Linked DNA regions of Homo sapiens: all the other regions are linked to region 3. Evidence: promoter capture Hi-C in 16 types of primary human blood cells and fetal thymus (Javierre and others, 2016). All regions are on one chromosome and are shown on one strand. The core of a region is centred on a gene start or on the middle of the fragment in contact, and the rest is flanking DNA. Distances in the headings are between cores, read along the strand shown. Region 1 overlaps CD101-AS1 (CD101 antisense RNA 1). Region 2 overlaps TTF2 (transcription termination factor 2). Region 3 holds the start of IGSF3 (immunoglobulin superfamily member 3). Region 4 overlaps CD101-AS1 (CD101 antisense RNA 1). Region 5 overlaps TTF2 (transcription termination factor 2).

Region 1 (2,700 bases), core at 187-2,686, 390 kb after region 3:
GAGCTGAGACTGCACCACTTCCAGCCTGAGGGGCTGAGTGAGACCCTGTCTCCAAAAAAAAAAAAAAAAACAAATTGACATGACTATACTCATAGTACATAGTACATTGTATAATGTTTGTTACTTAACATTATACAAATGATTACTATGTCTTTTTATGTCTTTGTATTAATAACAATTAATGTCATTTTAACTTAGGTTTAAGTTCCATACAAACGTTAAAGGAAAAAGACTTTCAAGACCATTTAAAAAGAGGAAGATGATGGCTAAAAAGCACACGAAAAAGAGTGCCACATCAATAGAAAAATCAAAATTCAAACAAAAGTCAGATACCACTTCATACCTACTAAAAAAGGCACGCAATAACAAGCATTGTTGAGGACATGAAGAACTGGGAACCCTCATACGTTGCTGGTGGAAATATAAAATGGTATAGCCACTTTGGAAAGTGGTTTGGCAATTTCTTAAAAAGTTAAACAAACTAACCATATGAACTAGCAATTCCACTCACAGGTTTATCTGCCCAAGAGAAATGAGAACAAATGTTCATATAAAGACTTTAACGTTAGGCCGGGTGCGGTGGCTCATGCCTGTAATCCCAGTACTTAGGGAGGCTGAGGCAGATAGATTACCTGAGGTCAGGAGTTTGAGACCAGCTTGGCCAACATGGTGAAACCCTGTCCCTACTAAAAATATAAAAATTAGCTTACGTGGTGGCTCGAGCCTATAATCCCAGCTACTCGGGAGGCTGAGGCAGGAGAATTGCTTGAACCTGGGAGCTGGAGGTTGCAGTGAGCCAAGATCATGCCACTGCACTCCAGCTTGGGTGACAGAGCAAGACTCCATCTCAAAAACAACAACAACAAAAAACAAAAAAACAAAAACAAAAACAATAAAACAGACTTTAACATTAATGTTCATAGCAATATTATTCCTAATAATTCCAAAGGGAAAATGATCCAAATGTCCACCAACTGGTGAATGAACACAATGGAATATTACTCAGCAATAAAAAGGAGTGAAATACTGATACATGTGCAACATGGGTAAACCTCACAAGCATTATGTAAGTGAAAGAAGACAGAGGCAAGAGACTACATATTACATGACTCCATTATATGAAATGTCCAGAAAAGGCAAACTTATAAAGACAGAAAGCATATCAGAGGTTGCCTTGGGACTAGCTGGGGGTGGCAGTTGGGATTGACTGCACACAGCTTTGAGGAAAGTTTTTGAGTGATAGAAATGTTTTAAAACTGGATTCTGGTGGTGATGGCACAACTTTATAAATTTACTTAAACAATGAATTGTGGGCCAGGTGTGATGGCTCATGCCTGTAATCCCAGCACTTTGGGAGGCCGAGGCGGGTGGATCACCTGAGTTCAGGAGTTCGAGACCAGCCTGGCCAACAGGGTGAAACCCCATCTCTACTAAAAATACAAAAATTGGCCAGGCGTGGTGGCGGGCACCTGTAATCCCAGCTACTCGGGAGGCTGAGGCAGGAGAGTCACTTGAACCCAGGAGGCAGAGGTTACAGTGAGCCAAGATCATGCCACTGTACTCCAGCCTGGCAACAGAGTGAGACTCTGTCTCAAAAAAAAAAAAAAAAGAATTGTGGCCGGGCGCGATGGCTCAAGCCTGTAATCCCAGCACTTTGGGGGGTCGAGGCGAGTGGATCACCTGAGTTCAGGAGTTCAAGACCAGCCTGGACAACATGGTGAAACCCCATCTCTACTAAAAATACAAAAATTAGCTGAGCGTGGTGGCACAAGCCTATAATCCCAGCTACTCAGGAGGCTGAGGCAGGAGAATCACTTGAACCCAGGAGGCGGAGGTTGCAGTGAGCCAAGATCCTACCATTGCACTCCACTCCAGCCTGGGTAACAGACAAGACTCCAACTGAAAAAAATACCTGTACATTTACCAAAAAAAAAAAAAAAAAAAAAGAAGAAGATAAAGAGCCTGCATTGAACCACTTTTGGAATAATATTTTAAGAACAGTGAAATTTGGAATCTAGTACTGAAAAAATATTGGTATAACAAAATAATTTGTAAAGTCTCTTGGCTTTACAAATTATAACCACATTTGTTCTCACTATAGTATCATCCTGATCGAGCCTATGTCAAAGGACAAGTTGAAAACAGTCATATGTTTGAAAGGCACAAAATGAAATGAAATGAAATTGAATTACCATTATATATCTTCAAACAAAAAGAATGAAACAGAGGAGGGTGGGCCTCAGTTTGGTTTTTATGTTACTAGGCTGCTACCTAGTGGTCATTTATAAAATGGCAGGACTTGGGTTTTTGGTTTTTGTCTTGGATTTGTTGAGCCATGTCTCTACACCACAGCAAATACCTAAACACTTACCGATGTGTGGGTTAAATATCTGAATGCATTGCTGAATAATTTATGCTTTATAAAAATACTATAGGCTGGGCGCAGTGGCTCAGGCCTGTAATCCCAGCACTTTGGGAGGCCGAGGCAGGTGGATCACCTGAGGTCTCAGGAGTTCGAGACCAGCCTGGCCAACATGGCGAAACCCCATCTCTACTAAAAATACACAAAATTGCTGGGCGTGGTGGTGGGTGCCTGTAATCCCAGCTACTTGGGAGGCTGAGGCAGGAGAATTGCTTAAACCTGGGAAGTGGAGGTTGCAGTGAGCCGAGATCACGCCACTGCACTCCAGCCTGGGCGAC
Region 2 (2,700 bases), core at 51-2,550, 420 kb after region 3:
CCACCCAAGAGGGGAACGTCTTCAGCTAAAAAAGGACACCTTTGGTCATATTTAATTACTCTACTGGAAAACCAGTATTAGATTACTCACCTATCATATCATTTCTGATGCTGAGTATGCTAATTATAAGTGATCATTTTTTCCGTATAAATTTGCCTATAAACTAGGCAGAATTTTATGGAGAAAGCTGAGGCTCTAGAACACTTAATTTAAGCATAATAATAATTCTTATTTTTTGAGACAGGGTCTCGCTCTGTTGCTCAGGCTGGAGTGCAGTGCATGAACACAGCTTACTGCAGCCTAAACCTCCTTGGCTCAAGCGATCCTCCCACCTCAGCCTCCCAAGTAGCTGGGACCACAAGTTTGCACCACCACACCCAGCTAATTTTTTAATTTTTTTGTAGAGATAGGATCTCACCATGTTGCCTGGCTGGTCTCAAACAACTGGGCTCAAGCAATCATCCTGCCTCAGCCTTCCAAAGTGCTGGGATTATAGGTGTGACCCACCATGCCTGGCCAATAATTATTATTTTTGGAAATATTGGGGAAATAACTACAGGGTAGATTCAAATTAATTTTTTTAAAGGAAGATCTGTCACAAATTCACATTTTAGTCACTATAGTGGAAGCTATTTTCCATGTTTCTGAAATTCTAGAAGTTCCTAGATTATAGACACTTTCTATCTTAACATATGTTTTTAAAATGTAGTAACTTTAGCCAGGCACAGTGGTATGCACCTGTAGTCCCAATTGAGGGAGGAGAGGCAGGAGAATCACTTGAGCCTGGGAGCTTGAGGCCAACTGGGCAAGAAAGCAAGACACTGTCTCTTAAAAAAAATTAAATAAAAAGTAATAACTTTATAAGTACTTTAAAGATTGAATATGTTATGTATAGACAACACTACATGTAAGTTGCCATGTATTCAAGTACAGCTCTCAGTTGCTTAGATAGATTAAAAATCTGTGGGCCGGGCATGGTGGCTCACGCCTGTAATCCCAGCACTTTGGGAGGCTGAGGTGGGCGGATAACAAGGTCAGGAGACCGAGACCATCCTGACTAATACGGTGAAACCCCGTCTCTACTAAAAATACAAAAAATTAGCCAAGCATGGTGGCAGGCGCCTGTAGTCCCAGCTACTCAGGAGGCTGAGGCAGGAGAATGGCATGAACCTGGGAGGCAGAGCTTGCAGTGAGCCGAGATCGTGCCACTGCACTCCAGCCTGGGTGACAGAGCGAGACTCCGTCTCAAAAAAAAAAAAAAAAAAAAAATCTGTGGCATCTGCTCTCAGGGCCTCTAATGAGCACTGTTGCAGCTGGGTCCTATATCCCTTTGTGTGTACTAGCAGTATGTGTAAGTAGCACAGGCACACACACGCAGAGATGAGGGGCCATGGTATAAACAAACCATCACTAATTGGTTCCAAACCAATGTTTGCTTATTTTTTAAAAAAGGTTTCTGTACTTAATTTTAAGGTAGAAGTACATTAAGTTATGCTTTTCAGAAAGTATAACAATACTCCATACGCCTCTATAATGAATCAACTCAAGAGGAGTTAGGAAATGATCCAGCTTTCACTTCCAGCCACTCTGTGAAAGCACATTGCTTTTTCACACTGAGGTCATGTGCCACCCACTTTCCTCCCCCTGTTTAGCCTCTCTTTCTGCCTGTACTTTTAGTGGAGAAAATAAGTAATCAAGTGTTTCAGTTTAAAAGACCATTTCTTCCATTTCCTACTTCACTATAGGCTCTGTATAGAAATAAGAGCAATGGTTAAACATATTAATTGAAGGAGTAAAGTCAGTCAAGAGGAAGAGGTAATGCCTTTAAGTTAAAGGCCGGTCAAACACGATGACTCACACCTGTAATTCCACTGTGGGAGGCTAAGGCAGGAGGATCACTTGAGCCTAGGAGTTTGAGACAGCCTGGGTAACACAGCAAGACCGTGTCTCCATATATTAAAAAAGAAAAGTTAAAAGCCATTTGGTGAATGTAACTAGGCACTGATTTTTTTCCCTTCTCAAGACTCTTGTGACTTTACTTCCCATGGAACACTAATCATCTGTCCTGCCTCCCTGATCCATCATTGGAAAAATGAGGTGGAGAAACGGGTGAACAGCAACAAACTAAGAGTCTATCTCTACCATGGGCCAAACCGGGATTCACGTGCCAGAGTGTAAGTGCAGGAATACGCAGTTGTGGGGGCGTTCAGCACCTCTGCCCAAGGGCCCACGGGCCTTTGCTCCCATCCCTGAGATTTCACTTAATCAGGACGCGTATTTGTGAAAGCCAAAGACAGATCTTTAGTCTCGTCACCATACAGCCTTTGCGTTGTATCCTGAGGTCTACTGGTGATCTTTTGCTGTGTCCTTGTCATTGTCCTCAATGAAAGCTGCCCTGTGAGGAGGCCTGAGATGCCGGAGCTGCCATTCAGGTGACAGCAGCATTCCCCTAGTCAAGGAGATGTGTCGCAAGGCCCTCATGGCTGCTGGAGTTCTGATTCCAGGTGTACATAGTGTGAATGGAACCAGCCCAGTTCTACAGAGCATCTTGATAGAATGCTAATGATTAGTTGCTATAGGTTGATTATATTTTTATGACTTTTTAATATATGAACCATCTAAGATGCTTTAGACTCAATAATTTAGGACGATTAGAGTTAACTATAAATTCTTGAAGAGGGATGCTCAGGAAGGAGGGAA
Region 3 (2,700 bases), core at 1-2,500:
GAGGGAGTTGGGGGGAAGGGGAGGAGTGGAGGCAAGTGTGAAAACTCCCCTATGCTACAGGAAGGGTCCACAACAATTCGGAAGTCGCTCCCGGCTCCTGCCACATCGTGTGCCTTGCAGTTTCCACTGAAATTGCAGACTGTAGTGGATTAATCCTCCAGAAGCACGGAAAAAAGGGTCTGAGAAAATCCTTTCATCCACTGATTATACAGAAATGTCCTTGGCTTCTCAGTGAAGGTGTCTGTGATCTCCCTCATTCGGATTCCCCAGAGAGAACAGGGCAGGTTTCGTCAAAACCTTTGACGGCCAAATCACCCTGCCTGGCATCAACCGTTTGGGTTTCTTCACCAAAAAGTCCGTTTCCATCCATGGTGGTAGGTCACGGAGGCGCCACCTGCCCCACGCCTGCCTAGGGCACACGAAGCAAGTTGGCGTTCGGCAGCCCTGAAGCGGTACCCCAGCGCGAGCAGATTTCTAAAACAAACACAACAGAGATTTTTATCAAAGGCAAAGCTGCAAAACCCACTGGGGCTGAGCGCTGAGCTGGTCCGGACACCTGGGTCCGGTTCCTGGACCAGGACAGTCAACCTCTGCATTCTGACCTTGGGCAAGTCTCTGTCTTTCCCTCCGCCTCAGTTTCCCTGCCCAGAGCAGGGCAACAGTGGGAAGCCCGATTGTTCCTGAAATACTTCCACCAAATGCTTCACTCCTGGGAATTCCCGTCACCTCCTACCGAGCCCGGGCGCCGCAGGTAGCCCCACCCTCCGCCAGGGCAAATCGGGAAGGGGCTCCGCGGTGGGGCCGCGACTCCCGGCCCCCGCCCCAACCGTGGGAGCTCTGCGCGCGACGCGTCCCAGGTGGCCCCGCTATTGTTTTACCTTGCAGGGTGTTTATATCTCGCTGATTGGAAAGAAAAGAAACCGGGGAAGAAGGGAGTCCGGAGCTCCGCTTTCAGCTGCCGGAGCGCGCTCGCAGCGCGCCCGCCCAGCCAGGGGAGGGGTCTCGGGCCCGACCCGGAGCTCAGCCGGCGCGGGCCCGCTCCCCACTCCCCGCTCCCCGCTCCCCGCTCCACGCCTCCCCGCCTCCCTCCCCGGGGCCCCCTCCGGGCGCCGCCCGCGCCCCCGCCGAGCCTGACCTCGCCCCTGGCCCTCTCCCTCCGCGCGCGTCGGACCGTCCTTCAGTCCATCCAGGCGCACGCCTCAGGGGACGCGCCGCTTCCTCTTCTCCCGCAACGGCACCAGCAGCCGCGCTGCGGCCCCTCCCGAGTCCCCGCCCCTCCAGCTCCAGCCCGGCCCGCCGCACTCGGCGAGGCGAGCGCGGGGCCAGGGCGGCGGCCTCGAAGAGAGGCCCGGCCCCGCCCCCGGCCCCGCCCCTGGAGACGCGAGTCCCGGCCCCGGGCCTGGCGGGGGCATGAGGGTGGCCCGGGGCACCGGAGGACCTGGGCAGGGCTGGCGTGTGGGCCGAGCAGCCCGGCAAGTTAATCAGGGCTTCACACCCAGACTCCGGGGCCGCCGGCGAGATGTACAGGCCCTTCCCAAAGCCCAGCTGGCCACCCATAACCTGGGAAGCCGGCGGCACAGAAGCTCGTCCTTCCTCCTGGAAACAAAAACAAAGCCCTTTGGAGACTTGAATCTGTTCACGAAGTGGAACCCCATATTGCACTTCACTCTTGGATAGAATTTGGACTCTGGAAACAGCCTGGGTTCTAACGCCGGTTCCTCCACTTCCTCGCTGTGGCCCTTGGCAAGTTACTTAACCTCTCTGTGCCTCAATTTCCCCATCTGCTATGTGGAGGAAATAACCCTTACTTAAGAGGGTTATGGGAGAAATCTGTGACATACTTGTAAAGCATTTAGAATGGTGCCTGATACATCACAAGTGGTCAGTAAATATAAGCTATTATTATTTTATGACCAACCGCCCTGTAAAGCAAGTGCTTTTTCGTTTTCTCACTACTTACCCAACACACACAACTTGCTGGGTAGACACCGTCACGAGGCGACCAAAGCAGAATAGACCGCCCTGCCCTCATGCAACTTGCAGTCTAGTGGGGACACAGACCATAAAATAGACATGACAAGAAAAGTACAGTGTTGAGGAAGCAAATGCAGAGACCCCAACCCTGTGTTATTGGGGGAGGGGCAAGGAGGAGGGAGCTTTGGTCGGGGTAGGTCCCAGGCTTCTCAGAGGAAAGGAAAACTCGGTTGAATGCCAAAGAACAGAAGGCAGCAGCAGAGGAAGAGACAGAGGGGAGGTAAGGAATCGCAGACTGAAGAAACAGCACCTCTGCAGGCCCAGAAAGGAGCCCAGTTAGAGGACCAGGACAGTCTGCTGGGCCCAAACTTGACTGTAGGAGAGAAGTGACAAGAAATGAGCTGAGAAGAAATCGAGTGCCAGAACCTAGAGGGCATTGTATGGTGTGTTAAGGGGTTGGGACCATTGGGAAGCCACTGAAGGTGTTGAGTAAGGGACTATGGTTATCAGATATACGTTTTATTTTTCATTTTATTTTAAGAGACAGGTTCTCACTCTGTGACCCAGGCTGGAATGCAGTGGTGTAATCTTGTCTCACTGCAACCTCCACCTCCCGGGTTCAAGTGATTCTCCTGCCTCAGCCTCCTGAGTCACTGGGACTACAGGCGTGCACCACCACACCCGGATAATTTTTGTACTTTTAGTAGAGACAGTGTTTCACCATGT
Region 4 (2,769 bases), core at 191-2,690, 370 kb after region 3:
TTTACTTTTGGCTTTTTGTGTTATAAATCTTCCTTGGCAAAAGGACAAGCCTCTGTCTCAGGAGTTGACCAACCAGGGCCTATGGGCCAAATGCAGCCCACCATCTGTTTGTTTTTTAAAATACAATATACTGGAATATGGTCACTCCCATTCGCTTACATACTGTCTGTGGCTGCTTTCACGATAAAAATGGCAAAGTTGTGTAGTTGCCACAGAGACCATAGGACCTACATTGCCTAAAATGTTTATTATTCTGGCCCTTTACAGAAAACATTTGCCAGCCCTGCTGTCCTTTAATGTTCTGTCTCTCTTAGCCATGTATTATGTCCCTGGGAAACTGATTTGACCTCTTATATCTGAATCTCTTCTATATCTGATTAATCTAATAAATAATCTTAGGTTTTCAGGATTGGCATCTAGTCCCAGCCATTCTGAAGTTTGACTCCGCTGTACCGGCCTCACACTATAGATGGGAAGTTTATCACCCTGCAACGTTTCACGCCATCATACTGAGTACCTACTCTGTGCAAGATAAGATGACACAGGGATGATTAAGGCATGGTTGCTGTTAATTATTTTTATTGTATTGAGATGTATAGAAAAAACCGATTTATGGCAGAAGATGAATGCAATGGTATAAAGTCATGTGCCATAATAATTTCTTACAATCGTACAGGATTTTTTTCATTATCTCAGAATTTTACAGCATCTCTATACAAAAGGAATTGTTATTCCTGTCCTACAGGTAAGGAATTATAGCTCAGAGAGGTTGGGATTTATCCAGGATCACCCAGCCATATGCAGAAGAGTAAAAGCTCAAACTTAGGTCTGCTGACAAGTCCTGGACTCTTTCCACAATAAACACTCTTTCCACAATAAACACAAAAAATATGCTCAAATCCATTGCTATGGGGGAAAATCTGGATATAATAATAGCCACTTTGAGTGGTTGTTATGGTGATCAAATCAGATACATCAATGGAGATAAGTTTTAAAACCACATCAAGTCATAAATGAATGTCAGCATTAACCCAAGTTTTTCTAGGACTTAACCTGTCCGTGTACATAAATAAAATGTAATCAATAGTAATAATCCAAATTCTACAGGCTTTCCCTCCCAGAATATTTACACAGGGTCTTGGCCATCTACAGTGTCCTTTAGCTATTTCTGGGGGATTTCCCAAAACTGGAAATTTTTTTTTAAAGAGATGAGGTCTCACTAGATTGCTCAAGCTGGCATTGAGCTCCTGAGCTCAAGTAATCCTCCTGCAAGAGCCTCCCAAGTAGCTGGGTCTACAAGTACACACCACCACATCTGGCCCGGATTCTGTGAATTCACATGAGCTCACAAGCAAGTCCATTCCCATGTGGTTCCCTGCAGCTCCGTTGGGCTCTGCGGGCTCCCACCGCAGCTGGCATGCCAGAGCACATGAGATGCCAAGCTGAGTCGTGTTCAGTGATAAGCAGTGAAAAGGGACTCTTTCTCTGTCTTTACATTACACTCTTCTGTAAGGATACAAATTCAAGATTGTTTGCACCCGTGTCTCTAAAGATTCTCTTGTGAAAACTGTTCCATTAGCATTTGCCCAGTATCTCCTTTCTCCAGAGTCCAGACACCAGCAAGTCTGCGGCCAGGCTGGGAAAGACTTCATGCTATTCTCTCCATTTCCCATTGCCTGTTCCCAGCAGCCTCTGCACTAACCTCCTCATCACAGGTCCTCTTTTCCTCCAGCAGGAAGGTTATGCAATTGTGCTGTTGGGGAGCTCTACCACTTGGCAGACAGAGCCTGAGAAGTCTGCATTCCCTGTAGGCTCAGGTGGGAATTCTGTCAAACTGGCTATTAATTTTTACTCCTAATAAAGTGCTACAGGCATTTAGAAATCAGAGACAACTTCATAAAGAAGATGTAAGTTGAACTGGGCTTTAAAAATAAGAAAATATTTTGACAGGAAAAGGGTTAAGCAGAGGTCTGGACAGAGGAAGCCCCATGAAAAGTGCAGTGCTTACAATAGCTTTGGGTTAAGTGTCAGATCTATGAAGGGGAGCAATGGGAGATAAATCTGGAAAAGTAGTTAGAGCAAAATTCTGGGGTTGGGGAAGGACAGAAGAACAGATCTTGAACATGGATAATATCTTGGACTTCATGTGGTGGACAATAGTGAGCCAGTGAATGTAATGTAGTAGGGAAGGAGAATTGAAAAGCAACAGCATAGATGATAGGTGGGGTTGGAGTGAGGATGGCAGTGGTACAAAGGTGAGGCAGGGAAGCCAGCTGGAAAACCATCTTCACTCTCTTAATTTGTGTAATGGCTATCACACCAATTTTGTGAGCATTTTGAGTATAGAAAAAAATTATCAGAAAGTTTCAAGTATCAAGCTCATAGAGGTAGCTCCTGTATATTAAACACAATGACACATGATGAGACTCTTCTTGTGTCTAATAAATGCTCGTTAACCTAGTTTTCTACTGATAAGTTTAGAGATAAGAGACAGTTCCATCCATTCATTATATTAACTGGCTTTCCATTTTTTAAAAAATTTATTCACCTTTACATTTAATTTACTTGTTAGAAATTTGGAGTTTCTACCATATTGTCTCTTAATCCAAGGCTCCTTCTGAACCAGCTCTGACTGCCAAATAGAGATGTTTTGAGTTGAAGCATAATTATCACATTAAGCCATTTACCGAGACGAGAGACTATATTGGATGAGGACAGTGATTAAGAAGTTTCTATGGTATAAATAACCAGCATAGGAAAATCCAAATT
Region 5 (2,797 bases), core at 71-2,570, 430 kb after region 3:
GTCCATGAAAGGATGCTCCTATCTTTTATTTTTCTTTTTAACTTTTATTTTGACATAATTTCAGACATACAGAAAACGTACAAGAATAGTACCAAAAAGTTCCCATATATTATGGTGTGCATGTGGGTAGAAACATTTTTCTGGACCACTTGAGAACAAGTTGTAGACCTGATGCTCCTTTGTCCCTAAGTACTTAAGTGTACATTTCTTAAAATTAAGGGAATTCTCTTACGTAACCCCAATAAAATCATCAAAATCAGGTTATTAAAATTAATAAAACACTATTATCTGATCTACAGATCTTTTCAATCTCACTTGTCTCAGTGATGTCCTTCACAGCAAAAAAGAATCCCAGATCCTGGTAGCACGCAGTTTTCATAAGTTTGTCTCCTTTGATCTGGAACAGTACCCAGTCTTTGTGTTTTATGACATTGACATTTTGATGAGCATGAGCCAGTTATTTTGCAAAATGTCCTCTGTTTTGGACCCCCTTGTCTTTAAAAACAACAAAACCTGCCTTAATGCTGCCAATCCCCTCTCACAATGGCCCTCTTTTTTGCCTTCCTTTTCATGACCAGGTTTCCTGAAGAATTAGGAATCACTGCCTATCTTTACTTGATTACTTCCCATTCATTCCTCAGCCTTTACAAACTGGCTTTTACTCCTGTTGCTGCACTGAAATTGCTCTTGTTAAGGGGCACCAATGACTTCCAGACTTTGCTAAATATAGTGATTATGATAGTCTTCCTATGCTCTCTTCTCTGCTCATTCTGTACATTCCTTCCTTCACAAATTCTGTGCACTCCAGTAAGTCCAAAATTTGTATCTTTAGTTCCAAGGTCTCCTAAACTTCAGACCTATCGCAGTCCCTGCTAAATATCTGAATCCGAGTGTCCACATACTCATCTGTTATTCCTTCTTTTATTCATTGTTCTTTTGAGCATTCAGCCCATAAAACATACCTTTTGAGCACCCACTATGTAGCAAGTATAATTACATGTTTCAGGTACTCAAATGTTACAAATAGAAATTGATTTTCTCTTCCTATTATCTCAAATCTGCTATTCTTCTGTAGTCATTGTCTTTGTGAATAGTATCACTCTTTATCTAATTATCTAGCCAGAACTAGACTCCTACCTTTCTCGCTTTTCCACTTACCAAGTCCTTTAGTTATATTTTCTAAATGTTTCTGATAACCATTTCTTCCTTCCCATGCCCACTGCCAGGTCCCCCCTTCCCACTCTGCTGAATCCTGTTCTCTCCATCACCACCGAAGGGCTCTTCCTAGCTAATCCATCTGATTGTGTCATCCACTTCTCATATTCTTCAGTAGCTCTCACCTCCTATAGGATCAAATCAAAATGTCTTAGCATGACATGCACCACCACCCGTGATCTGGCCCTACCAGCCTCTTGAGCTTTTGCCATTGTGGACAACATGGTCAATGTGAACTTCCTCCAATACACCATGCTCTGAAACTCAGCCATGGTTTTGCACGTGTTCCCATTCCCTGGGGTGCTCTCCTCACTGCTCTTTCTGGCAAACCCTTGCCCAACATACAAGTCTCATATTAAGAGTTAACTGTTTAATGGGGCCCTCCCTGACTACCCTGGACACATTTCCTTCTCCTCCTTTTGCACACGGCACATACTTCCATTATAGCACTTACCAGGTCATATTATTGTTTATTTTCATGTTTGTCTCGCTTTTGTTCTGCTTTGGAGCAAGACTATATTCATCTCTCCATCCCCACACCTAGCATAGTGTAGTGAGTGCTTAATCAATACTTTTGAATGAGTGAATGAATGACAACAGTGCCATTTACTTGGTTTGAAAACCCTGTTTTTATTGTGAATTCACTAAGAAATACTCTACTTAAACTAGCAGAAATTTGATAACCTTTGAGGCCTTATGGACTTACCAAGGTAGAACTTTTTGGGTAAAAGCTGGATCTCTATACTTTTTTGGATTGGGATATCTTTTGCTTATTTTGAGTTTGTTTCAATTACCTTAGCTTCAGAAAGTATTAAAATGCCAATGTGGGTCACATCCTTTTAAAGGGATATATATCTAGTCAAGGTTGTTTGGATTCCTCAGACAGGGTTCTTAACTGGACCTAAGAAGACTTAAAGGAAGAAATCTCATTAAAAATGAAAGCATAATAAAAGTTTGAATATATTATTAGATGTGCTGCTTAGGGTTTTTGATAGTTTGCTTATTTTTTGTTTTTGTTTTTTAGATTTGTTTGTGAGGGAACAGTAGAAGAAAAGATCTTACAGCTCCAAGAAAAAAAGAAAGATTTGGCCAAACAAGTTCTATCAGGGTCTGGAGAATCTGTCACCAAGCTCACCTTGGCTGACCTCAGAGTCCTTTTTGGCATCTAACCTCCTGTGGATAAGGGCTCAGAATAGCACCATTGCTGGTTTGTATTAGGATCTGGGAATAACAACCTAACCATGAGCCTTGAACTCTGTTCTTTGCATTTCAATTTCACCGTCAAGCCTTTCACCTTCCTCAAAATGAGGCATAATCTTATCCCCAGAATTGAGGAGGGGTTGTGTTAACCAATTAGTTAACCAATTATGTTAATAATTTATTTAATGAGTGGTATGGAAACCAATTGATTTTTTTAGATAAAAGAATATGTTTTAGAGTTGGATGATTTTGGAAAACAACTCTGGCAGAATTGTATATAAGCTTCAGTAAAGTTCAAAAAGCGGGCCAGGTGTGGTGGCTCATGCCTGTAATCCCGACACTTTGGGAGGCCAAGGCAGGAGGATGGCTTGAAGCCAGTAGT

Evidence for each region. Contacts are between HindIII fragments. The CHiCAGO score rates a contact against its expected background, and 5 or more counts as called.
Region 1: a contact is called between a fragment that was not itself captured here and the fragment with the promoter of IGSF3 in region 3, in 9 of 17 cell types (megakaryocytes, M2 macrophages, fetal thymus and 6 more). The highest score is 11.9, in megakaryocytes.
Region 2: a fragment that was not itself captured here is called in contact with the fragment with the promoter of IGSF3 in region 3 in 2 of 17 cell types (activated CD4 T cells and total CD8 T cells); the score reaches 6.7 in activated CD4 T cells.
Region 4: a fragment that was not itself captured here is called in contact with the fragment with the promoter of IGSF3 in region 3 in 1 of 17 cell types (M2 macrophages); the score reaches 5.4 in M2 macrophages.
Region 5: a contact is called between a fragment that was not itself captured here and the fragment with the promoter of IGSF3 in region 3, in 2 of 17 cell types (fetal thymus and naive CD4 T cells). The highest score is 5.9, in fetal thymus.

Annotation. Positions count from the first base shown.
Region 1 is chr1:117,053,259-117,055,958 of GRCh38, forward strand. The region is part of intron 1 of CD101-AS1 (CD101 antisense RNA 1); the gene reads right to left. Among named protein-coding and RNA genes, the nearest start is that of CD101-AS1, 4.9 kb to the right of the region's middle. The HindIII fragment of the contact is 6,290 bases long and covers 1-2,700 here.
Region 2 is chr1:117,081,995-117,084,694 of GRCh38, forward strand. It overlaps TTF2 (transcription termination factor 2), which reads left to right. Exons shown (of 23, transcript NM_003594.4): 11 at 2,024-2,174. Among named protein-coding and RNA genes, the nearest start is that of MIR942, 11 kb to the right of the region's middle. The HindIII fragment of the contact is 4,974 bases long and covers 1-2,700 here.
Region 3 is chr1:116,666,483-116,669,182 of GRCh38, forward strand. It overlaps IGSF3 (immunoglobulin superfamily member 3), which reads right to left and starts at 1,251. Exons shown (of 11, transcript NM_001007237.3): 1 at 1,136-1,251; 2 at 1-474. RefSeq lists a silencer at 1,096-1,485. The HindIII fragment of the contact is 3,697 bases long and covers 1-2,700 here.
Region 4 is chr1:117,037,073-117,039,841 of GRCh38, forward strand. The region is part of intron 2 of CD101-AS1 (CD101 antisense RNA 1); the gene reads right to left. Among named protein-coding and RNA genes, the nearest start is that of CD101-AS1, 21 kb to the right of the region's middle. The HindIII fragment of the contact is 4,956 bases long and covers 1-2,769 here.
Region 5 is chr1:117,099,141-117,101,937 of GRCh38, forward strand. It overlaps TTF2 (transcription termination factor 2), which reads left to right. Exons shown (of 23, transcript NM_003594.4): 23 at 2,240-2,797. The coding sequence ends at 2,384. Among named protein-coding and RNA genes, the nearest start is that of MIR942, 5.9 kb to the left of the region's middle. The HindIII fragment of the contact is 2,750 bases long and covers 1-2,695 here.